Regions from separate parts of the Homo sapiens genome. Here region 2 is linked to region 1. Evidence: promoter capture Hi-C in human tissues and cell types (Jung and others, 2019). All regions are on one chromosome and are shown on one strand. The core of a region is centred on a gene start or on the middle of the fragment in contact, and the rest is flanking DNA. Distances in the headings are between cores, read along the strand shown.

Evidence for each region. The method cuts DNA at HindIII sites, captures the fragments that hold promoters and counts their contacts. A contact is called where the count stands out against the background at its distance.
Region 2: a contact is called between a fragment that was not itself captured here and the fragment with the promoter of UNC119 in region 1, in 1 of the 25 tissues and cell types used here (dorsolateral prefrontal cortex).

The regions. Positions count from the first base shown.
Region 1 is chr17:28,550,543-28,557,129 of GRCh38, forward strand. UNC119 (unc-119 lipid binding chaperone) reads right to left here and starts at 2,082. Exons shown (of 5, transcript NM_005148.4): 1 at 1,796-2,082. The coding sequence starts at 2,015. PIGS (phosphatidylinositol glycan anchor biosynthesis class S) reads right to left here. Exons shown (of 12, transcript NM_033198.4): 9 at 6,285-6,430; 10 at 5,624-5,724; 11 at 4,309-4,519; 12 at 2,845-3,953. The coding sequence ends at 3,678. RefSeq lists silencers at 1,699-1,748, 1,809-2,258. The HindIII fragment of the contact is 10,966 bases long and covers 1-6,587 here.
Region 2 is chr17:28,386,389-28,392,698 of GRCh38, forward strand. SARM1 (sterile alpha and TIR motif containing 1) reads left to right here. Exons shown (of 9, transcript NM_015077.4): 6 at 1,786-1,888; 7 at 1,962-2,151. Among named protein-coding and RNA genes, the nearest start is that of SLC46A1, 17 kb to the right of the region's middle. The HindIII fragment of the contact is 5,996 bases long and covers 1-5,227 here.

The DNA of each region.
Region 1 (6,587 bases), core at 832-3,331:
AGTGGCCAAGGGCTCAGAACACAACTGCTCTATTCCTCTCAGCCACAAATAGCTTCCTAAGCTGGATTCAGGGCCCAGTAATCTGGGAACAGCAAACCTCAGACCTGCATGATTAGGGTCAGAAGAGACCAGGCAAGGGGTGCCAGGGTGGAAATCCCTGGAACTCTGTTCTCAATTCCTGCACAGGAAGGGGTTCTCATGAAGCCCTTTCCTCTACTTACCCTTCACAGATGCCCCATCTCTAAGGGCTATGAATTTCCTCCAAATTAGGAGACAAATGGTGGTACATGAGCTGGAAGCTCCCTCTAGTTGCAAAATAAACCCCCAAAGTTACTCAGGACTCAGTCAGTCTGAGAAAGTTCTGCCCCAGAGCTAAGCTGAATCCTAAATGCTGCTATTGCAAATTGTAGCCCAACTGGCTTCAACATCAGCCTGGTCCAGCCTCCCTCTCTCCATTGATGCCTGCTTGGGCAAGGGAGCTCAGTACTCTGGGGGCCCAGCTAAGAATGGCTGCTGCCTAGCTCAGTAAGGAGAGAGGAATTGGCCCCCAGGGACCCAGGAGCACAGGCTCAAGGCTGTCTCCCCTCCACAGCTCTGTCTGGGAGTCCGGTGTTCTGCTGCTTTGGAAGCTCTAGGGCTCAGGTCCACTCCAATACATGCCCCCCATACCCACAGAGAGGCCCCCCCCAACAGTTATTCTCACAAAGGGGGCCAGGGCAGGTTGCTGGTGAATGTGGCCAAGGTGGAGAGCCACTGTCTCTCCATGCACCTTTCATCCTTTGAGGCTCATCCAAAGCCTCTGCTATGAGGTTTCCTAGCCCTCGTTCCCTGCCTATGATGACCCCCTCCCCTGCCCTGAAAGCCAAGTTGTTTGACTCCAGGCAGCAGCTATGAGCAGCCCTGTAGGGCCCAAAAATACTACTGATCAAAGAGCCCAATGTACACAGCATGCATAGATGCCAGGCACTGTACAGAATCAGAGGACTTATCTTCACAATAATCTTACGAGAAAGGTATCATTATCCCCATTTTACAGATGAAAAGACATGCTCAGAGAGGTGAGGTTACTTGCCCAAGGTCACACAGACAATTATATGGCAGAGTTGGAACTCCAACCCAGGCAGTCCAGCTCAGAAACTCTTAACCACAGTGGAGACCAAGCCTCCCTTGATGACAGAGCCCCCAGAAGAGGACAGGTGCTAGTCCAGGCTTGGAGGGACATTATGCCACTCCCCATGAGAGGAACCACAGCCAACACACTAAAGCTGCCTGCTCAGTTTCTTTCCCGGGGAAGAAAATGGCCCAAGTCTTCCTGGAGGATCAGGGTGAGGGTATTAATGGTTGGGGAGACATGAAGAGTCTGAATGCCTCCCAAGTAACTCAGCCTCCACCTAGCCTCCAGCGTGGGGGCTGAGGACAGGCTGCACTCAGCCCCTCTCTTCATTAGTGCAGGGACGGGCCTCAAAGCGCTCTGGAGACTCCACAGCTACAGGGCTATGGTTGCAGCTGCTGCCGCACGTACCTCCACGCTGGGAAAAGGGGACGGGCCCCTGGAAAAGGAAGGAATAAATCTCGAAAGGGAGAAGAAGGAGGCACAGAGAGAGATCAAGGGAAGGGGGTACACAGAGATCTCAGACCTGGCGGCAGAAGGGAGAGCAGGGGACACAGGAGAGGGGACTCGGTGGGGGAGGGGAGGCGGGAAAGGGGGCGGGGGCCAGGGCTTGGCGCGCCGGGAGGGCCCCTCGCACCCTCTCCCCTTCCCACCCGCGGGCGGCGCTCCCTCGCGGGTGCTCACCACCGGTGATCCGCTGCAGCCCCAGCACGTCCTCCGGCCCGATCGGCTGCTTCCTCTGCAGCGGCCCCGGCCTGGGCCCTGGGCCTGCGTCCGGCTCCGACTCGGACCCAGATTCGGATTCCGCAGGCGGCTGTGGTATGGGGGCCACGCTCTGGCCCGAGGGCCCCGGAGCGGACTCCGTCGCCGTCCCGGCCCCACCGCCGCCCTTCTTCACCTTCATGGCCTTGCGGGGCCGAGGCTCGCCTGCTGCTGCCGCCGCTGCCTGCGCCGGCTGGAGCCGGGGGAAGTGGGAGCATCCGCAGCCCCGCCCCCGGCCGGGGCCCCAGGTACTGCCCCGCCCCGGCCCCGCCCCTGGGGTGGGCCCTGCGCTGATCCCGCCCGCCGCCCGGCCCAACCCTCCCGAAATGCGACGGGCGCGGGGGATGGGAGTCGGGGTATCCTGCCCTGGGCTTCATTCTGTTTTTCTAACACTTTCTTGTACTGGTACTAGTGGGGTCCTGACTACCTCTCCGCTTACTCATTGTGTTCCAGCCTTTCTGCCCGTGAGTTCCAGGCTCAGGGTCTCTGCTTGGATGGTCTTCCCCAGATGGCCTCTTTTCTCCTAGTCACAGCTCAAATGTCATCTGCTCAAAGGGCCTCCCTCACACCCAGTCTGAAGTCCTTCCCCCTCAGTCACCATCTGACCAGCCTGTTTTTGTCTTTCTAATGCATTATGTGAAATTATTTTTATTTGTCCGCTGACTCTTCCCCCTGAAAGCTCAGCTCTGTGAAAGCACTGGTCCTGCCTACTTTGTTCTCTGTAGGACCCCTGTACCTAGCAGAAGGCTCCCTGCAGCTGGTGCTCAAGACTTTTTTTTTTTTTTTTTTTTTTTTTTTGACCTGATGAATTAGTATCTCAGGTAAAAAGCAGATGCTAACAGCCTTGGGCAATCCAGCTAGGAAGGGCACATGGCCACGTGGAAGCAAAGTGGACCTGTGGGCACAGGAGGACAAACACCAGGAAACTGTTACTTACGCGTGAATGCAGAAAGAGTAGAGCTCAGACTTTGTATCATTCCAATTCATATTCAGCCAGTGTTTATTAAGAGCCTACTACACGCCAGACACTTTACATGCTGATCACATTTACTCCTCACAACCATCTTGTAAGGGAGACATCATCAGTGCCATTTGAACAAATGAAAAACTGAGGCTCAGAGAGATTCAATACCTTATCCAAAGCTCTCCAGACAATAAGTGCAAAAACAAGGATTTGAATTCAGGACTGTTTGATTCCAAATCTGGAACTTTCTGGAACCTCTGACACACACACACACACACACACACACACACACACACAGCACCATGTCCTGAGCTGCTGCCTCCTGGACTCCCGCCAGACTGCACCTGACAGACAAAGCCAACTAGGAGGGAGGGGAGTGAGGGAGAAGGTCCCACAGGTGACCAATGCCTGGCCCCTTCATGACAGCAGGGGCTAGGGCTGTCCCACAGGGACTAGAGAGAGGTGTGGAAGGCAGGGACTTTCCCATAATGCTCCCTCCTCTCAGTGCACAAGTGTGCTATGTTGAGAAATGGGGCAAAAGAACAAACAGTCCTTGCCACAGAGGGAGACAGGCAGCAGCCTTATCAAACAAGATAAGGAGACCCGGATGATGTGCCTTTTGAGGCCCCTGGTGGTGGAGGAGGATTGAGCCAGGTGAATGGGAAAGGAAGAAAAGATGAACCCATCTTGGAGTGTTGTACTTTGGTTGCTGGAGAGCCAACAGTGGAGACTGGAGACAAATATTTAAGTCATTCCGGCAGGCCCCATGTACGTGCCTCACAATCTAACACCGCCCACCTTGGCCAGAAAGGAAGGCTTCCTATGGAGGTGCTGCCCTGCTCAGTCTGTCTTCTCAGGCTTTCTCCAGGACTTGCGGGTCTCCAGGAAGATCTTGACCAGGGACAGGAGGATGGGCACAGCCATAGGCAGGAAGAGTGGGATGTAGATGGCAAACTTCTGGTCATCAGGGAAATAAAGGAGGTGGAGGAGTGACGGGTCAAAGAAGGCAAGCTCAGAGGATGTCACAGCTTCCTGGCTGGCGACAAAGGCAGATGCCAGGTGCCCAGACGCCAACTCTTCTGCCGACTTCTGGACGGCAGCTACAGCCTTGTACACCTAGGAAGGAGAAGGGACAAGAGGGTATACCAGTAAGTCCTAGGCATTGGTGGAAAGGGTGCTGGGCCTTACTGTGCCTTCCATCTACCAAGGAAGATGCCTGGAGTTCATCCAGGATCTATGGAAGTCTTTCTACAGGGATATGGTTTATTTTCCTAGGGTCAGCTTGAAACCTCGCACTCTCATCTGCACTCCTGCTTGGGGGCTGGTACTGCCGTCTAGAGGAAGGCTGGGACACTAAAGATGGCAAGCCCACACATACCATGGACCTCACAGGCTCTCTGGTCTCACCACACTCTGGCCCTCTCTGGCTACTCCAGTCCCAAGCTGCAGAATCCATCCCCTGCCTGCTTACCTCAGATGCCACGTCGTCCTTAATGACAATGTTGCTGATCTTGCCCAGAAGCTGCGCCAGGGAGGTAAGGGTGGTGGTGGCTGTGGCCAGGTTCTCCACTGACCGAGCCCAGAGCAGCCGGTCTAGCTCCCAGGTCATTAGCCCTTCACTCGTAGGCCCTGAAAGCAGGCATTTTGGAGGCAGCTGGGGCTGAGCAATCCCAAAGAGCAACCTGTAGGAACATCGGAGTAAGATCAAGGTGGCTGAGACCACAAGGCGGGAGATCATGGCTAAGATTTCTCAAATATCTGTCCTGAGCCAGTGATTTTCAATCTTACCCAGAACCATAGGGGTTAAAGGGAAGTACCTCAGGGTCTTGGGGGCATAAGGGGCAACACCAAACAAGTTGGCCCCAAACGCTGCTTCAACAGGTGTTTCTGCTTTTACCTGTTTCTACATTAGATTTCCAAGATCTTGTTTTTTAAAAAAAGGTTCCATGGCTAAAATACTTCTGATAACACCAACTCAGTTTAATCCTTTCACCTTTTCTACCCTCTCTTTGAACAAATGGGGCCAATGGGACTTAGCATTAAGGGATGATCCAGGACTGCCTTTGCCAAGGCACATGTGCTGTGCTTCTCTAAGCCTGCATCCGTGAGAGACACTGCTAGTCAATCAGAAGAATACTCTTTCCTAATGAGCCCAGATACAGCCTTAGAATCCTCAACACAGAGCCTCAGGCAGCCACTCTCAATCCATCAGGCAGCATAAGAATTAACAGCTATTTTCTTAAGCAGCCCTAATCACACTCCATGGACCTGACATTCATGAGTCTATTTTTCTTAAAACTGGTTTTGCTGGCTGGGCACAGTGGCTCACGCCTGTAATCCCAGCACTTTGGGAGGCCTAAGCGGGTGGATCACGAGGTCAGGAGTTCAAGACCAGCCTGGCCAAGATGGTGAAACCCCGTTTCTACTAAAATTACAAAAAATTAGCCAGTTGTGGTGGCGGGCACCTGTAGTCCCAGCTACTCGGGAGGCTGAGGCAGAGAATTGCTTGAACCCGGGAGGTGGAGGTTGCAGTGAGCCAAAATGGCACCACTGCACTCCGGCCTGGGCAACAGAGCAAGACTCCGTCTCAAAAAAAAAAATAAATGATTTTGTCACCTACTAGTCCTTCTTAGAAGGATGATGGGATCCTTAGAAACTTTTCTTGGTTTCCCTGGGGCTCTAGGCACAGCCAAGATATCCCTGCCAGGTAAGACTTGATTCCACTTTGCAACTCCCCTCTACAGCCAAGGAGACTATGTCCCCAAGTGGATCATCCAGGACCTCACCGCAACTGTGCCAGGAACACCTCCATCACTCGCACCATGTCCACCTCGACTCTCACTGGCAGCACTGAGGCATTATAGGTTTTGGAGTCAACATTATATACCTGAAAGGGGGAATGAGATTGCCACAACATCATACCAGGCCCTTGCACAGCTCTGCCCTAGGCACTCTGGAGAGAAAAGGAAAACATATTCTGTGCTCTTTAGAAGCTATAAACCTCATGGTATAGCTAATATTTTTTGAGTACCTACTACGGAGAGCATTAAATACATTATCCCAATTACCCCCTTGAAAGTCCTGTAGAACATATTTTTTTCTTATCCCATTTTAGAATTCTCCCCCATGAGAAACTTCCAGTCTAACAAGGGAGACAAGGCTCCCAACCTTGCAAGACTCCCACAAATAAGGCGAAGATCTAAGATGGACACAGAATGATCCTAGGTAAGGGCAAAGGGTCACAGTATAGAAAACACTGGCGGAAACAAAAGTGGGGCCGGCAGAAGAGGGGCATGAGCACATAGCACCCTCACCTTCCTGGTGCCTGCCCCTCCCACAGGCTGGGCCATGGAGGACACCAGAAGGAAAACAGAAGGAACACAGTTTCAGGGACACCTGCCTGTCCCAGAAGCATGGGCTCTGGGGTCTGCGTAGTGTGACTATTACCATAATGCCACCCCAGCGGGGACTATGGAAGGCATTGGTGGCCACTGGAGCGCCATCCTTGTCCTGAATGTACAGCGGTGAGTGTGCAAGCTCAGGCACGTAGAGTAGAAAGTTGAGCACAGGGTACAAGGAGGCAGCACTGGATCCTGTGGTATAAAGGGAAAGCAGAATATCAAAACATGCTGGACCTGGACCTTAGTCCCAGGTCGGCCTCTAACTTGCTGGTCACTCACTCTGGGACTGATTCCCCAACTAACAATCATTAGGATATCCTCCTGTCCAGGGTGTCTCTAGTAAAGGGCT
Region 2 (6,310 bases), core at 980-3,479, 160 kb before region 1:
ATATAGAATATTTCCATCATGGGTGTTCCTTTTAAAGATAATGAAACTAACATTTAAAGAATTCAAATACATTTCCCACAGTCATAAAAGTCATTAGATGGCAAAACTGGGACTTGAGCCCTTGTCTTTCTGCTTCATAAACAAACAAATGTTGTCTATGAGGGTTATGTCTAAATATTATAAGAAGATGAATTCTTTTCATTTTATCCTTTCATTCAGCAATTACAGACTAAGCACCCACAAGACACAAGGGACTGAGCTTTGGCTGCATTCTTATGCTTCAACCAAAGCAGGTTGGCTTTTATTATTTTTACATTGCAGCTCCCATTAAAACTTCAAGATTTCATTTTTATTATAATTAATTAATTTGAGACAAGGTCTCATTCTGTCACCTAGGCTGGAGTGCAGTGGCGCAATCACAACCCACTGAAGCCTCAACCTCCCGGGCTCAAGTGATTCTCCCACCTCACCTCCCAAGTAGCTGGGACCACAGGTGCGCAACACCACACCCAGCTAATTTTTTTATTTTTTGTGGAGACAGGGTTTCACTATGTTGCCCAGGCTGTTCTCAAACTCCTGGCCTCAAGCAATCTTCCCAACTTAGCCTCCCAAAGTGTTGAGATTACGGGCGTGGGCCACCGCACCCAGCGCAAGATTTCATTTTTAAACAACAGGAAAATCCTAGGGCAAAAATAGCTTACAAAAAATAGTTTGTATAGTGAGTAGGGAGCCATGCATAGTTTTTAAGTGGGAGGAATGACATGCTCAGATTTGGATTTTAGAAAGATGTTCTGGTAGCTGTGGCAAATGGACTACACTGGGCAATTCTTTTCTTTTCTTTTCTTTTCTTTTTTTTTTTTTTTAGTCAGAGTCTCACTCTGTCGCCCAGGCTAGAGTGCGGTGGTGCATTCTTGGCTCACTGCAACCTCTGCCTCCTGGGTTCAAGTGATTCTCGTGCCTCAGCCTCCCAAGTAGCTAGATTACAGACATGTGCCACCATGCCTGGATAATTTTTTGTAAAGACAGGGTTTCACCATATTGGCCAGGCTGGTCTCGAACTCCTGGCCTCAAGTGATCCACCCACCTTGGCCCCCCACAGTGCTGGGATTACAGGTGTGGGCCACTGCCCTGGCCTAGACTGGGCAATTCTAGCTGGGTTTGGGGAGGCCATTGAGGAGGCTGGCATTGGAAACCTGAGCCAGGGAAGGGCCCGGAGGCTGGAGTCCAGTATGTTTAGTAGGTAGAATCCTCAGAATGCGGTGCCTGGCGCTTAGTACTGAGCGTGGCTCCAGAGGAGCAGAGTGCTGTCTGTTTTACTCACTGCTGAATCTCAAGCACTGAAGACAGTCCTGGCACACAGCAAGTGCTTAGGATGTATTTGTTGAATAAATTAAATGGGAGGCAGGAGTTGAGGCTGATACCCAGGTGTCTGGCTTTGGTGGGAAATAGGGAAGAAGGAATGAGGGGGAGATTTGGGGTGTGTTGAATTTGGAGTGATTGTGGGCAGCTGGCTGTTCAGGTCTGGAGTTCCAGAGAGAGGTCAGGGCTGGAAGTGCATGCATATCAATGTCCCTAGAACACAGTGCCTGCCTCCTAAGAGGAACCCAACAATAACATGACCTTCCTCCTGGAGGCCCCATTTCTCCTTTTTGGGGCAGGCCACCCTCCCCAGGCTGGGCTGAGAGGGCTTGGTGGACTGGGGACTAAGTCCACAAGGGATGATATACCTGACAGTGAGTGATGCGGAGGGGCCACCTTCACCATGCTGCCTATTGCCCACTTCAGAAATGCTACACTCCCCGCTGCCCTGTACTGGTGGCAAACCCAGTGGGGACACTCCAGATGTCTTCATCAGCTACCGCCGGAACTCAGGTTCCCAGCTGGCCAGGTGAGGAGGGGCGGGCGGGCAGCGACGGGGCGTGGGGACAAGGCTGTGGCACTGACACAGGACTTACTTGCAGTCTCCTGAAGGTGCACCTGCAGCTGCATGGCTTCAGTGTCTTCATTGATGTGGAGAAGCTGGAAGCAGGCAAGTTCGAGGACAAACTCATCCAGAGTGTCATGGGTGCCCGCAACTTTGTGTTGGTGCTATCACCTGGAGCACTGGACAAGTGCATGCAAGACCATGACTGCAAGGATTGGGTGCATAAGGTAGGTGCCTGCCTATGCTTCTGCGGTCCCAGCATTGGCCTGTGGTCCAGAAGATAGGGTCGTCTTCTATTCCTTCTTGTCTGCACATCCCGGCACACTTAGCCCTGAAGCACCTCCTTGGCCCAGCTGGAAGTCAGGAACCACAGCTCTGACTGTAATAGGACTTTAGCAAACCACAAGGGACAAGAGACTAGGCTTTGGCTCTCTGAGCCTCAGTTTTCTTTTTCTTTTTTTTTTTTTTTTGTTTTTGAGGTAGAGTCTCGCTCTGTCACTCAGGCTGGAGTGCAATGGCGTGATCTTGGCTCACTGCAAGCTCCACCTCCCGGGTTCACACCATTCTCCTCCCTCAGCCTCCCGAGTAGCTGGGACTACAGGTGCCCGCCACCACGGCTGGCTAATTTTTTTGTATTTTTAGTAGAGACAGGGTTTCACCGTGTTAGCCAGGATGTGAGCCTCAGTTTTCTTTTCTGCAAAATGGGGTAACTTACCTGTTCCACTCACCTTATAGAACTGTTGTGAGGATCAGAGAGACATAAAAATGCTTTGAAAAATAAATTCCATGAGAGACAGGAGAGCATAGCGACAGGCAGAATGGAATAGTTGTTGAGAGCTCAAAACTGAGAGTTTGAATCCTGGCTCTGGCCTTGGGCAAGTTACTTAACCCCGATAAGCTTCATATTTATTTCTGGAAAGAGGGTATAATAATAGTATCTAACTCCCTAGAACATTGTTATAAGGACTAAAAAAGCCAAAATTTGTGAAGTGCTTAGCAGAATGGCTGGCACATAGTAACTGCTCAATAATGGTAGCAATTATTATTATTAATATAATTATTATAACTACTATATCTGTTTAATTCATCATTGTATTTTCAGTGCCTGACGCATTGTAGGAACTTATTGAATACTAACAGAATGCATTGATGGATAGCTCCATATTGCATCTTCAGGTTATTAATCATTAATCGGTCAGTAGGAATTGGAGTTGGGGCTGAGGGATGCAGTAGTCATCTAAGAGACAGGATGAGACAAGCAGTCAGCTCAGAGACAAGAATATGCCCAGAGGGCTGGGCACAGTGGTTCACACCCGTAATCCCAGCACTTTGGGAGGCTGAGGCAGGAGGATCACTTGAGGTCAGGAGTTCGAGACCAGCCTGGGCAACATGGTGAAACCTTGTCTCTACTAAAAAAATACAAAAATTAGCCAGGCATGGTGGCGCACACCTGTAATCCCAGCTACTCAGGAGACTGAGGCAGGGGAATCGCTTGGGCCCAGAAGACGGAGATCACACCACTGCACTCCAGCTTGGGCAACAGAGTGGGACCCTGTCTCAAAATGACTAGATCGCATACAAGTTGGTGTAAATGCTGAGCCAGGTAAGCAAACATCTTGCTTGCCACAGGGGTTTGGAGAAGGGAGAGAGCATCAAGGTGTCAACGAAAAGAGTCAGACTCTATGAGCGACCATGGCCTGTGACACAGCCCTCAGGAGACCCTGAGAACACGTGCCCAAGGTGATCAGGGCACAGTTTGGTTTTATACATTTTTGGGAGACACGAGACATCAATCAATACATTTAAGATGTACATTGGTTTGGTTCAGAAAGGCAGGACAGCTCAAAGCAGGGGCTTCCAGGCTATAGGTAAATTTTAAATTTTTCCAGTTGATAATTAATTGAGTTTATCTGAAGACCTGGGATCAATAGAAAGGGAATGTTTAGGTTAAGATAAAGGGTTGTGGAGACCAAGTTTTATTGTGCAGAGGAAGTTCTCAGGGCAGACTTCAGAGGGAGTAGGTTATAAAATGTTTCTTATCAGACTTATAAGGGTGCCTGGCTCTTTGTTGATTATCTCCTGAGTCCGGAAAGAAAAAGAAAAAAATGGGGGGAAGGGGATTCTCTATAGAATGTGGCCTTTTCCCACAAGAGACAAACTTGTGGAGCAATTTCAAGATATGGCAGGGAAATATATTTGGGGTTAAAATATTTTTATTTCCTCCCTTATTATGTGATGTTATGCTAGAGTCAGGTTAGAAAGCAGACCACGCTATATAGGGTTAAAATTAAAACCTCCTCCGATAAGACTTTATGGTTTGTAGGGCATGACTCCCTAGGCTCCTTAGGTAGGAATTTGGGCAAGATAAAAAAAAAAAAAATCAGAGTTTAGTCCTCAAAGGACTGGAATAATCAGGGAAGACTTCATGGAGGAAGCAGGTCTTGAGAAGAATCTTAAGAATCTGGGTAAGTGGAATAGAAGGCATCCCAGGCCAGGGTAACAGCATGAGCAAAGGAATAAAGGTAGGGAGGAGAACAGTGCTGAAAGCCCACATACATCTTGGTACTGCTTTCTCCATATCACAGATGAAGAAACTGAGGCTCAGAAAAGTAGAATAATGTTCCCCTGGCTGCACTACTAGTGTAGAAATCAGAAAAGCTAGGCTTCAAATTCCATCTATCTGACTCCAAAGCTCATCACTTTCCCAAGATCCACACTGCATTCTATGGCACAGCTCTGAGGGGGTGTGAGGGGAGGTGATGGGGTAGGGCTGGATTCGGTTGACACCAGAGATGATTGTATCTCTTCACAACTCCACATCCAGTGATGTCATGTTGGTAGCTTGTCATCAGCCATGGTGGGAGTATTTACACCAAGGAAATTGGCAACCACTACAAATCAAAGTTTTGTTAGTTTGGTTGATTGGCTGGTTGGGTTTTCTTCCCCCATGAATAGCTAGTTACTATAAAGTTAGCAGCACACCACTGGCTGGATAAGAACCATGGAAACCAGGTAAAGCAGTGTCTAAAGGCAGGAGAAGACCTGTGCTTAAAGCACTGGAAATCAAGGAGCCCATGAAGGAGAAGATGCCAGGGCGGTGGGTCTTAGGATGAAGGCTCTGACACTGGAATGCAGTCCACATGGAGTGTGGAGTCAAGCCCCAGAGGCCATGTAGGAGGGGCTGAGTACTAGGCCTGGTTTGGGGAGGGGCACTGGGGCAGTTGAGCATCCAGGAAGAACATGGCTGATAACCCAGAGCACGTGGCAGGCAGCCTTTTGAGAGAAAGAAAAGAGTGTCTGTGAGCTCCATGAGACTTCAGACCTTGCCTCATTCATCTGTGTCCCTGGTGCCTAAAACCATGCATGGTACAAAGGAGGCTCTATGCAATTGCACCAAAAAAAAAAAAAAAAAAAAAGAGAGAGAGAGAGAGGCTGAGGCTGTAGAGGAGTTTATAGAACAATTGAATCAATGATTAAGCAGACAAGTGATACTGATGAAGCTGAGATGCCATGCCTGGGAGAGCCATACATATCTAGTAGATTTACCAGGTTAGAGGACTTGACTCCGTTTTTTTTTTTTTTTTTCCAGTAGAGATAGGGTTTCGCTATGTCACCCAGGCTGGTCCCGAACTCCTGAGCTCAAGCCTGGAGTTCAGTGCCTGCCTCGGCTCCCCAAAGTTCTGGGATTAGAGGCATGAGCCACCGTGCCCAGCCAGAGGACTTGACTCTAATTGTTTTCGTTCTCAACCAGCTAGGTGATCCTGAACAAACCATTATCCCTTTCTTTTATTTATTTAATTATTTTTTTTTTTTTGAGGCACAGTCTTGCTCTATCACCAGGTTGGAGTGCAGTGGTGAGATCTTGGTCGGCTCACTGCAACCTCCGCCTCCCGGGTTCAAGTGATTCCCCTGCCTCAGCCTCCTGAGTAGCTGGGACTACAGGCACACGCCACCATATCCAGCTAATTTATATATATATATTTTTAGTAGAGACGGGGTTTCACCATCTTGGCCAAGATGGTCTCGATCTCCTGACCTCGTGATCCGCCCGCCTTGGCCTCCCAAAGTGCTGGGATTACAGACATGAGCCACCACACACGGCCGCCATTATCCCTTTCTTGGCCAGCCTCTGAATCTGTGCGATGAATAATTTGTACTGTCTTTGGTTTTGTATAATTCTGGATGAAACAAATTTCTAAAAATTTCCAAATAAATTGCTGCAGGCTCAGGATTCATTCCAATGCTCAGCAGAAAGGCAGCAGGGCTTGGCTGAAACAGCCTGGACTTGGACTCTCGAGGCTTGAGTCAGAGGACCGGCCCCTCGTGGGCTGGGCGTGTGTGTGGCTTAGGAGGAAATCCCTTCCTCTCTGGGCTTTTTTCTCTCCA